Regions from separate parts of the Homo sapiens genome. Here region 1 is linked to region 2. The links are contacts of gene promoters, found by promoter capture Hi-C in blood cells and fetal thymus (Javierre and others, 2016). All regions are on one chromosome and are shown on one strand. The core of a region is centred on a gene start or on the middle of the fragment in contact, and the rest is flanking DNA. Distances in the headings are between cores, read along the strand shown. Region 1 overlaps CELF1 (CUGBP Elav-like family member 1). Region 2 holds the start of PTPRJ (protein tyrosine phosphatase receptor type J).

Region 1 (5,623 bases), core at 2,454-4,953, 460 kb after region 2:
AGGTGATCTGCCCACCTTGGCCTCCCAAAGTGCTGGGATTACAGACGTGAGCTACCACTCCTGGTGCGCAGGTGCCCTTAATGAGAGTTCTGGTAGGTGGGATAAGCAAGAAAGTCTAGGTCTGTCTGTTCTCAGTCTCTCTTCTCTCTTTTCTTTCTTCCTTTTTTTTTTTTGTTTGTTTTTTTGTTTGTTTGTGGATAGAGACGGGTTCTCGCCACATTGCCCAGGCTGGTCTCAAACTCCTGGGCTCAAGTGGTCCACCCACCTTGGCCTACCAAAGTGCTGAGATTATACATGTGAGCTATCAAGGCCAGCCTCTCTTCTCTTAATGTGTATAGCATTTATAGTTTGTACCCCACGCTTTAGTGCAGTAGTCATGTACTGTCTGCCTTTATTATTAATATCTCATGTTAATCTCATCTAGGAATTAGATTGGAGGTCACTGATACTATGGTTTTGATTTGTGCTGTAGCCCCTATGATACCGAATAAATACATAACCAGGCTGGGCTTGGTGGCTCATGCCAGTAATCCCAGCCCTTTGGCAAGCCGAAGTGAGTGGATCACTTGTACCTAGGAGTTTGAGACCCGCCTGGGCAGCATGGTGAAACCCCATCTCTATAAGGGGGGAATAAAATTACATAGGTGGTATGCACTAAGTACTTCAGTAAGGGCTGAAGAATAGAATCATTTGAGCCAATCAGCCATGCATTTCTTATTGTTGGAAAATTCACTCTGGTCAGCAATTAAGCTTTTCACATACTTCACATTGAAGTGAATCTAAATGAATTGTTCTAAGTAAAATAATTTTTGGAACACAAATATTTGGCTTCTGGTTATATAAGCCATCATCCTCAGACATAGATTTTAAAAATTATATTAGAGTTTATTTTAACTTGTATCAACCATAAAATAAAAAAGAGCTCAAAACATACACAGTTGGAATGAGACCTTCATTCTGAAAGCAGCAAGGAACTAGTGAAAGTTAACATTGTTCACTCGAATGGAGAATAACCTTTTTTTGCATGTTAAATTTTAGGATTTAAATGATAAATTGAGCCTCACCACTACTGCTGATCTGGGAAGAATCTGACCTAGTAAAGGTTTTCAAATGTCTTTTCCATTTCCCGTGGCTGAGGGATTCTTGGTGTCAGTGACTGAAATTATTTGGAAGTTCCTTGACTGAAATAGAATATCTCAAACCTTATTTCAAGTACCAGCCTGTGTGTTTCTGTTTTTTGTCTGGAGCATGTGAACAGAATGCATGTGTGTGAGATAATTGGGCTTTCACTAATGGCCCCCTTTCAGCAACCATGTATGGGTAAAGCTGTTCAGTTCCCTGCTCCTCCCTCTCTGAGCACGGAGCAGAATCTGTTCTGCTGAAGCTGCTGTTCCACTTTTTAGCTTGCTATATTTGTACAGCAACAGCAGGAGCAGCCCACTAGCTAGGCCGTGTGGCCACCCTTTGGCACCCGCACCGGCTCAGACCTGCTCAGGACTCAGCCAGGGCACACAGTTTGTGTTCTTACGTGCATCCATCTGTCTGTCTGTGTGCGTCTCTGTGGAGGACTGAGGTTTTCAAGTGAAAGAGGTGACTCGTTTGTCTTTGTTGTTTTGCTGTGTTCAGGTTTGTCAATTGTAAATTGTAGAGAATGCTTCAGGTTGTTAGGGATGGGGTGAGGAGACAAGATTTGTATTTAACAAAATACCGTCTTGGCGAGAGGGTACCAAACAGGGAAATGTGATGTCAGAAATGGTCTTTGGGTTCCCTTAGAAACATACCTTGTTGAAGTGGTAGTGTTTTTTTTTTCCTCTTTGTTTTGTTACAGGTCACAAAGATCAGCTCTTGGGGTGGTATTGAATTCCTTTCCTGGCACTCAAATTTTTTGACATAAAATTTGAGTATAAAAAGATGAGGCACCTCCACCCCTTTAAGAAATGATTTAGTGCACATCTTGAAAGAGTGCAGTAGGGGTTAAGTGTGTTGACTTCGCTGTCTGCCAGGAAAGGAACTGTGGGGAATGCCCTGTTGCTTTGGGCCCCACAGCAACCTATGCTGTTTGCGCTGTTTGAGTGCTTTGTAAAGTTTGGCCTTACAGAGGCCTTGTAATGCCTTTTGGTGTCATGTCTGTTTAAGGAATAGCAGAAGACATGACATGTAGACAAATTTCAGGTTATTTTCAGAAGATACTGGGTTTGTTACTGTATTTTAAAAGGATACTTTCTTGGTTTGTTATGAGATATTCTAATTAAACAGTGATGAATTCTTACTCCTGGTCAGTGTAAGTCTAAATTCAAGTTTGTTGCTTTGTTTTACAGTTTCCTTTCACTCCCCTCCCCCATCCCCTCATGAGTCATAAGCATGCAGTGTTGGGAATAGAACTTGTCAGCTGAGTGGGGATGAGACAGTTCTCTGCCCATACTATTTGTAACTGTAGTCAATGAGGAGAGGAAAGGACGTTATTAAATGCTGGAGAAACACCTTGATTGAGGCAGCTTCTTCTGTGGCTGTGTGGTATGGATGCAGAGTTCTGTGTGACTATACACTGATGTATTCTGGCTCTGAATCACTTAGGGATCTCTTCTGCACCTTGTGCATTGTAGGTTTTGGATGCTTATTTGTTTAGGGTCTAGGACCTGGTGCTTAGCCTCTCCTGGATCCTGTATATTTACTGACTTTCCAAATTCTTTTGAGTGTGGCATTATATCTGCTTCATCTTCTCTTTCTTGGCTATTCTTAGTGCCCTTCTCATTTTACTGTCCTAATGTTTTCCCATTTATACTATGAATCATTGTGCACCCTATGTAGAGCCTGTCATTGGAGATTAAAATCAGTGGCAGCTCTTTGATTTTACAGCTCAGCCTCAGTAAGTGACACTCTGATTAGCACACCTATATTCTAGCTTTCTTTTTGTTCTTGGCCTTTTTTAAAATTTATAACTTCCCTGGTCTCATTTTATTAGTTTATATTTTTCCAGTGTGTCCATTTTGAAAGCTTCATGAAAGAAATTTTTTTTTTGGTTTGATGGAAGGAATGAATAAATGTTTATACATAAATAAGTGTTCTCAGAACAAGTGGTTTGGTAATCCATAATGAAGATATACTGGACTCTAACAGGCCCAGTTGGAGGTGCAAGATCTGTCAGCCTATTGCTGCCAGAATTCTTACCTATTCACTTCCCCCTCCTGCTAGGAAATATTTTGGAATAATCTCAGGTACCCAATTTTTTTTTTAAATAAATGAAGCCTATTTTATTACTTCAAGTTTGCTTTTTTTTTTTTTTTTCTGGAGATGGAGTCTCGCTCTGTTGCCCAGGCTGGAGTGCAGTGGCACGAACTCAGCTCACTGCAGCCTCCACCTCCCAGGTTCAAGCAATTCTCCTGCCTCAGCCTCTGAGTAGCTGCGACTACAAGCGCATGCCACCACACCTGGCTAATTTTTGTATTTTAGTAGAGATGGGGTTTCACCACGTTGGCCAGGCTGGTCTCGAACTCCTGACCTCAGGTGATCCACCCACCTTGGCCTCCCAAAGTGCTGGGATTACAGGCCTGAGCCACTGTGCCTGGCGTTTTGTTGTTGTTGTTGTTGTTGTTTTAGACAGAATCTTGCTCTGTCACCAAGGCTGGAGTGCAATGGCACAATCTCAGCTCACTGCAACCTCTGCCTCCCGGGTTCTCCTGACTCAGCCTCCGTAGTAGTAGCTGGGACTTCAGACGCCCACCACCATGCCCAGCTAATTTTTGTATTTTTAGTAGAGATGGGGTTTCACCATGTTGGCCAGGCTGGTCTCCAACTCCTGATCTCGGGTGATCCACCTGCCTTGGCCTCCCAAAGTGCTGGGGTTACAGGCTTGAGCCACCATGCCCGGCCTACTTCAAGTGTTAATGATAAAAAAAATTTCAGCTGGGCAAGGTGGCTCACACCTGTAATCCTAGCACTTTGGGAGGCCGAGGCAGGCAGATCACCTGAGGTCGGGAGTTCAAGACCAGCCTGACCAACATGGAGAAACCCCGTGTCTACTAAAAATACAAAAAAATCAGCCAGGCTTGGTGGCACATGCCAGTAATCCCAGCTACTCGGGAGGCTGAGGCCGGAGAATCTCTCGAATCCGGGAGATGGAGGTTGTGATGAGCTGAGATCATGCCATTGCACTCCAGCCTGGGCAACAAGAGCAAAACCCGTGTCAAAAAAAAAAAAAAATCAGCATAGCTGTTGCATTTTAAAAAGTGAAACTACACACTATGTTTCTAGCTCAGTAAACAGATGAACCTGTTGTCTTTGAGTAACATAACCATTGAGCGTTGTACAGTACATCTTAAGATCAGGTACTTTATTTTGAAGAGATAGAATCATCATGTAACAGGCTGAAATTTTTTGGGACTCATTCTTTTCCACCATAAACACCAAGCTTGGTGCCCAGAATAATAATAGTAGCAAATGTTTATTGAGCACTTTCTATGTGTCAGGCACTATTCTAAATGCTTTACATGTATAAATTTAATTCTAACAAATATCCTGTAAGGTAGATACTGTTTGTGTAACCATTTTGTGCATGAAGAAACAGAGGTATTTATGAAGAAGTTAAACAATTTCCCCAGTTACCTGGCTAGTAAGCAGCAAAACTGGGATTAGAAAGCAGTGGTATGACTCTAGAGTCTAGGTATAGGGTACATTGTGGGTTTGTAGTAAATATTTGTCTATTTTATTAGCACACTTTGTTATTTGAGATTATTAAATTATGAATCAGTCTAACCCATTTTCATTTTAGAATTTCCTTATGAAAATAACTATATGATTTTGGTTTTGCAGATCACCATCAACTGTACTAGTTCATTTATTTTTTATTTTATTTTTTATTTTTGGAGACGGAGTCTCTCTCAGTCGCCCAGGCTGGAGTGCAGTGGCACGACGTCGGCTCACTGCAAACTCCGCCTCCCAGGTTCACGCCATTCTCCTGCCTCAGCCTCCGGAGTAGCTGGGACTACAGGCGCCCGCCACTATGCCCGGCTAATTTTTTTGTATTTTTAGTAGAGATGGGGTTTCACTGTATTAGCCAGGATGGACTCGATCTCCTAACTTCGTGATCCGCCCATCTTGGCCTCCCAGAGTGCTGGGATTACAGGCGTGAGCCACCACGCCCGGCCCTCTAGTTCATTTATTGGTGGTAAAGAACAGCAAGCCAAGTAACAAGTTTGTGAAACATCTCTAAAATTACTAGTTTATCTCCACTAGTACCAGACTATTTACTGAAGATATTGAAAGCAGAATTAATTTTAGCCTTTTTTGGGTCGGGGGGGAGCGCAGGAAGAGATTGGTTCTCACTGACCCAGGCTGGAGGGCAGTGGCACAATCTTGGCTCACCACAACCTCTGCTCCCAGGGTCAAGTGATCCTCCCACCTCAGCCTCCTGAGTGGCTGGGACCACAGGCACATGCCGCCATGCCCAGTTAATTTTTTTGTATTTTTTGGGTAGAGGTAGGGTTTTGCCATGTTGCCCAGGCTGGTCTTGAACTCCTGAGCTCAAGTGATCTGCCCACCTCGGCTTCCCAAAGTGCTGGGATTACAGGCATGAGCCACAGTGCCTGGCCTGCTTCTTTACCTCGTTCCTGCACCACACATCTTC
Region 2 (5,053 bases), core at 1,182-3,681:
TTATCAAAATGAACTGCTGAATGTGGATTTTGAAGATGCTTCTTCTGGGAGCCTTTTAGACTTCCTATTTCATAATGTGTCCAAAAAAAAAAGAAATAAGAGAGTCCTTTTGAGGTTCTACAGAACAAACCATAGAGGAAGGAAATATCTAAATACAGGACAAGTGTAGAGTGGCAATATGCTAATGAAATACAAGGAAGGATTGAGCAAGCAATAAATTTACCCAAGAAACTTTTTGCTGATTGAGAACACAGCTAGCAACCACTATGGCTGGAGCAAAAATAAATAAATTTTATATATATATAATTTAAAATTTTTTTGCTGAAGCAAAAAAAAAATTACATATATTATACATTTAAAAATAAATGAAGCTTTAAGTTTGGGGGTTTTCTGTTTTTTGTGGTTTTTGTTTTAGCATAAACTTTTGATACAAGAAATCTTCAAATACAAGGCTTTTTTAACTTCAGACACTGCTTCCCTGAATTTCCTTACATGGACAGGGAGAAGACAGCCCCCACAGGCACTGTACCTTAATAATGAGAATCCCATGTGGAAACCCTTAATATTTACAAAGTTCTTTTAGACATTGGCCAGTGGAAGCCCCTCAAACAATTCCATTGGGCAGAGGGTGCTATACTCATTCTACAGATGCGGTTAACTGAGGGTAGAGAAGCCTGAAGAGCAAGTCCAGCCCTGTGGCCCGGCCCTGGAGCCAGTCTCCTGACATCTACTCCCAGGTTCTCTGCAGGAGGTCACATTGCCTTCTGGCCCCCAGGAGAGCCTGTGCAGAACCTGCTGGGGAAACTGCGAGGAGAGACCCTTGGGTGCCGAGGGTCACGCAGCCCCCAGGCCCCAGCCCCCTTCTCCTACAGCCTGCTAGGCGGCATTGCTGCCCCAGGGTGATGCTTCTGCTCTCTCCTGTATTCGCGCTGGAGAAGTTTTCCCTGAAACCAGGTTCCATCCCCAGCCAATAACTCATTTCCTCAGAGATGGTGTCTGTATAAAACAAGCAAGATGGTCATTTGCAGAAACGCACAGCAAGGCAGCCCTAGACCGCTTCCCCTGCGGGTTCAAACCCCAACAGGCTCCAGAGGCTAAGAGGACGTGCCCGCTGGCTCAGCTCCCATGGCACGGGCTGGGTGCTCCGCTATTTCACTTCTCTCCCTCAGTTCCCCATCTGTGAAATGGGAATGCCCCTTCAGCTGCTCTGCCTCAGCCCCTATGGAAATGCCAGGAAGGGGAAAGGTCGGTCACCAAAACGCCAGGGACAGCATTATCTGAAAAGTGAAGCCAGAAAAGAGGGTGAGGGTGGGGTGGGGAGGGGGAGCCAGCGCCCACAAAGCACGAATTAAACACCCATGAAATCAAGCACGACGCCAAGAGGGCCGGCTGCCTTGAGAAAAGCCAGCGTGCGGCCACCTTTTCCCCGGCCTGGGAACTTTCCCCAGGAACAGGGCCCTCGGCCCGGAGTCCCGCGCCTCGCCCAGGGCCCCACTGCCCAGCGCCTGGCCCTGCCCTGTCGCCCCCGCCGCCCCTCGGGCCCCTGCAGGCCGGGTCGGAGGTCTGTCGGCAAAGGCTCAGCCAGGCCGCCCGGCTCTGCGTCCCCAGACCTCCGCAAACACGCCCCCTCCGGCCGCCTCCGGCTAGGAAGCCGGGCCCGTGCCCGCCAGATGTGCCCAGCGCCGGGAAGAGCCGGGCCAGGGACGGCCTGGAGCCCGCGCGGAGGCTTTCCCCGGGAGGCTCGGGCACCGCGGCACCCGGATCCCGCCTCTCTCCCCCGATCCTGGGCAGCCGGAAAAGGGATCGATCGCCGGCGTGCGAGGCCGGCCGGGGTCCCCGCAAGTCGCCTTCCGGGGATCCGGGGATCCGGACCCCCGCCCCCTTCCCCGGAACCCCCCGGGGGGGTACGCTCGGGCAGGTGCAGTCAATGCCAGTCCCGCCCCAGCCTCCTGCCCCCCGCCCGAGCCCACCCGGCGCTTACCTGGCCCAGGCGCAGCAGCAGCAGCAGCAGCGGCAGCGCCCAGCGCAGCCCGGGCGAGCGCGGAGGCAGCCGCGCCTCCCGCGCCGCCGGCTTCATGCCCCGCGCGCCCTGGAACGTGCCCCGGACGCGCGAATCGGGCCCCGCCGTGCGCCCGAGCCCGGGCACCGTCGTCGCCGCCTCCTGCCGTCTCCTTCGCCTCCTCCTCCGCCAGCCGGTCCGCCTCGTCCCCGCTCCGCCCGCCCCGGGCTTCCCCGGAGACATGGCAGCGGCGGCGGCGGCCGCGGCCACACGCCGGAGCCTAGCGCGGCTGCCGCGGGGGGGCCGCGTCCCTGAGCGCGCAGGGGCTTCGCGGGGCGGAGCGAGCGGCGCCCACCCCCAGCGCGCGGCTACCCGGTCCCGGCTCCCGCGGCTGCTCCCGCTGCCTCCTCCGCGCGTCATGCGGCTGGGGCTGCTGCAGGGAGCCGCGGCGAGCGCTCGGCCCCCTCCCTTCCCCTCCCCCTCTGAATATTCATCGCTTCCTCCCGCCCCGGCCGGCCCGGCGGCTGCGGAGCTCCGCAGCCCCTCGCCGCCGCCCGCCGCTGCCCCCGCCCCCTCCGAGCCGGCCGCGGATCCCCTCCCGCGGGCAGAGGAAGCGCTCCCGCCTCGCCCGCCCCTCCGCCCAGCCCTCCCACATTCCTGGGACTTGGAGCCCGGGACCAGGCTCCGTGGCTCTAGCGCCTCGAGCCGGCACCCCTCAGGACGGGCTCCCCAGCCTCACACCAGGTCCACGGCGCCGGGTTCGGGTGGGCAGAGGTTGACCGAGACCCCTACTGAGAGCGCAGCCAAGCCTGATTGTAGACAGCAACCCGGCGAAGGCGCGTTTGACCTGGCCCTGGGTGGGCTTGGGGGTGCGTGAACCCCGAAATTGTAGAAGGCACGCTGTACATTGTGTTCTGTCCCCCAGCCCCCGAGCGCCGGCCAGGGAGGCAGAGAGCCCAGTACAAGCCAGTCCAGGGATTAGAACCCCAGCTGTGGCATATGGTGGACGGGGCTCTGCTGGTAGTACCAGCCCTGTGAACTCTGGAGACGCATTTCTCCTCTCTGGCCGACCCCACCCACCCTCCTCTCCTCCCGTGTGAAATAAAGATCGTACTAGGACGTGTGGAGAGAGAGGTCCACTGCATTCGCGATTAAACGAGACAGTAGTTAGTAAAGTCCTAAACACCTAGCCTGACACATCGTGGGACTCCACATACATTAGCTCTTCTGGAAGCTTTCATCACGTTGTTAAAGAGGTCAATGAACTGACAGGAGTTAAAGATCACAGCAGATATTACTCCTGTGCCCATGCACAGAGGAAGACACTAGGATCAGGGAGGCTATGCCACTTGCCCAGGAGAAGCCGCAAGAGAAAGGGCCAAACCAGAGAGTGCTAAGGAGGAAGAGGTTAATTCCAACCAGGAGAGAGGTGACACCTGAGCTGGGCTTTGAAGGATGTGTTGAGTTTCACCAGGCCAGTAGAGGGGAGAAGTGTCTCAGGAGGTGGGGCCAACTTGGCAGAAACGAGGCAGCAGATGCTTCGAGCTTGGCCTTCGGAGAAACAGGAATGGGAGGCTGGGGGATTCATACTGGGGGAGACTTCAAAGGCCAGGATAATGAGTCTAGGCTGGATTCTGTGTGCAGCAAGATGCAGACCACGAGGTGTCCAACACTACCTCCAGACACCCGTTGGGCCTCAGGTTACCATCTACAAGATGGGAATACACATTCACTTACAGGGTCTAAGTGGTTCCCACCAGACAACACACCCAGACAAGCACTGAGGATAAAGAAACTTTGCCAGGCCGCACGATGGCTCACGCCTGTAATCCCAGCACTTCCGGAGGCCAAGGTGACTAGATCACTTAAGCTCAAGAGTTCGAAACCAGCCTGGGCAACGGGGTGAAACCCAGTTTCTACAAAAATTAGCCGGGTGTGGTGGCACACAGCTGTAGACTAAGCTACCTGGGAGGCCGATACAAGGATGGCTTGAACCTAGGCTGCAGTAAACCAAGATGGCAACACTGCACTCCAACCTGGGGAATAACGTGAAAACCTGTCTCAAAAAAAAAAAAAAAAAAAAGAAGAGGCTGGGCGTGGTGGCTCACACCACACCTGTAACCCCAGCACTTCAGGAGGCCGGGGCAGGCAGATCACTTGAGGTCAGGAGTGCGAGACCAGCTTGGCCAACATGGTGAAAACCCATCTCTACTAAAAATACAAAAGTTAGCTGGGCGTGATGGCGTGCCTGTAATCTCAGCTACTCCAGAGGCTGAGGGCAGGAGAATCGCTTGAACCCGGGAGACGGAGGTTGCAGTGAGCCAAGATTGCACCACTGCACTCCAGCCTGGGTGACAGAGTGAGACTCCATCTCAAAAAAAAGAAAAGAAAAAGAAAAAAGAAACCTTACCTATGGACTTACACACCTTGCCACCCTTCATTTAAACACTATGTAATTATCATAATTCACAAGGATTTTTGTTCCTCTGTGCCTCCTCCCCTCTTGAGGCAGAGACATAAAAGGTGTTCATGTCCATGATACCCAGAGGGAAGGAAAGCTTGATTTAAGATGCTACCAGGGGGCTGGGCACAGTGGCTCACGCCTATAATCCCAGCACTTTGGGAGGCTAAGGTGGGCGGATCACCTGAGGTCGGGAGTTCAAGACCACCTGACCAACATGGAAAAACCCTGTCTCTACTAAAAATACAAAATGAGCTGGGTGTAGTGGCGCATGCCTGTAATCCCAGCTACTCGGGAGGCTGAGGCAGGGGAATCGTTTGAACCCAGGAGGCAGAGGTTGCAGTGAGCAGAGATCGCGCCATGGCACTCCAGCCTGGGCAACAAGAGTGAAACTCTATCTCAAAAAAAAAAAAAAAAGATGCTACTGGGTAGCCAAGGATGATTGCCAATTATAAAAAAGAAAAAGAAGATGATAGTAGGTCTGCAGGCTGCCTCGGATCCTCACAGACCCTACAGACCCTACTAACCCTGAAGACCGACCCAGGTCTCCACAGATTCATGGCTTGGGTCAGCAAACAGCTCTGTGAACTCCT

What was found. The method cuts DNA at HindIII sites, captures the fragments that hold promoters and counts their contacts. A CHiCAGO score of 5 or more calls a contact.
Region 1: a contact is called between a fragment that was not itself captured here and the fragment with the promoter of PTPRJ in region 2, in 1 of 17 cell types (activated CD4 T cells). The highest score is 5.3, in activated CD4 T cells.

Annotation. Positions count from the first base shown.
Region 1 is chr11:47,520,491-47,526,113 of GRCh38, reverse strand. All of the region lies in intron 1 of CELF1 (CUGBP Elav-like family member 1), which reads left to right. Among named protein-coding and RNA genes, the nearest start is that of CELF1, 30 kb to the left of the region's middle. RefSeq lists a silencer at 1,217-1,276. The HindIII fragment of the contact is 1,414 bases long and covers 2,997-4,410 here.
Region 2 is chr11:47,977,937-47,982,989 of GRCh38, reverse strand. It overlaps PTPRJ (protein tyrosine phosphatase receptor type J), which reads right to left and starts at 2,431. Exons shown (of 25, transcript NM_002843.4): 1 at 1,982-2,431. The coding sequence starts at 2,077. RefSeq lists silencers at 1,401-1,830, 1,931-2,520. The HindIII fragment of the contact is 2,862 bases long and covers 374-3,235 here.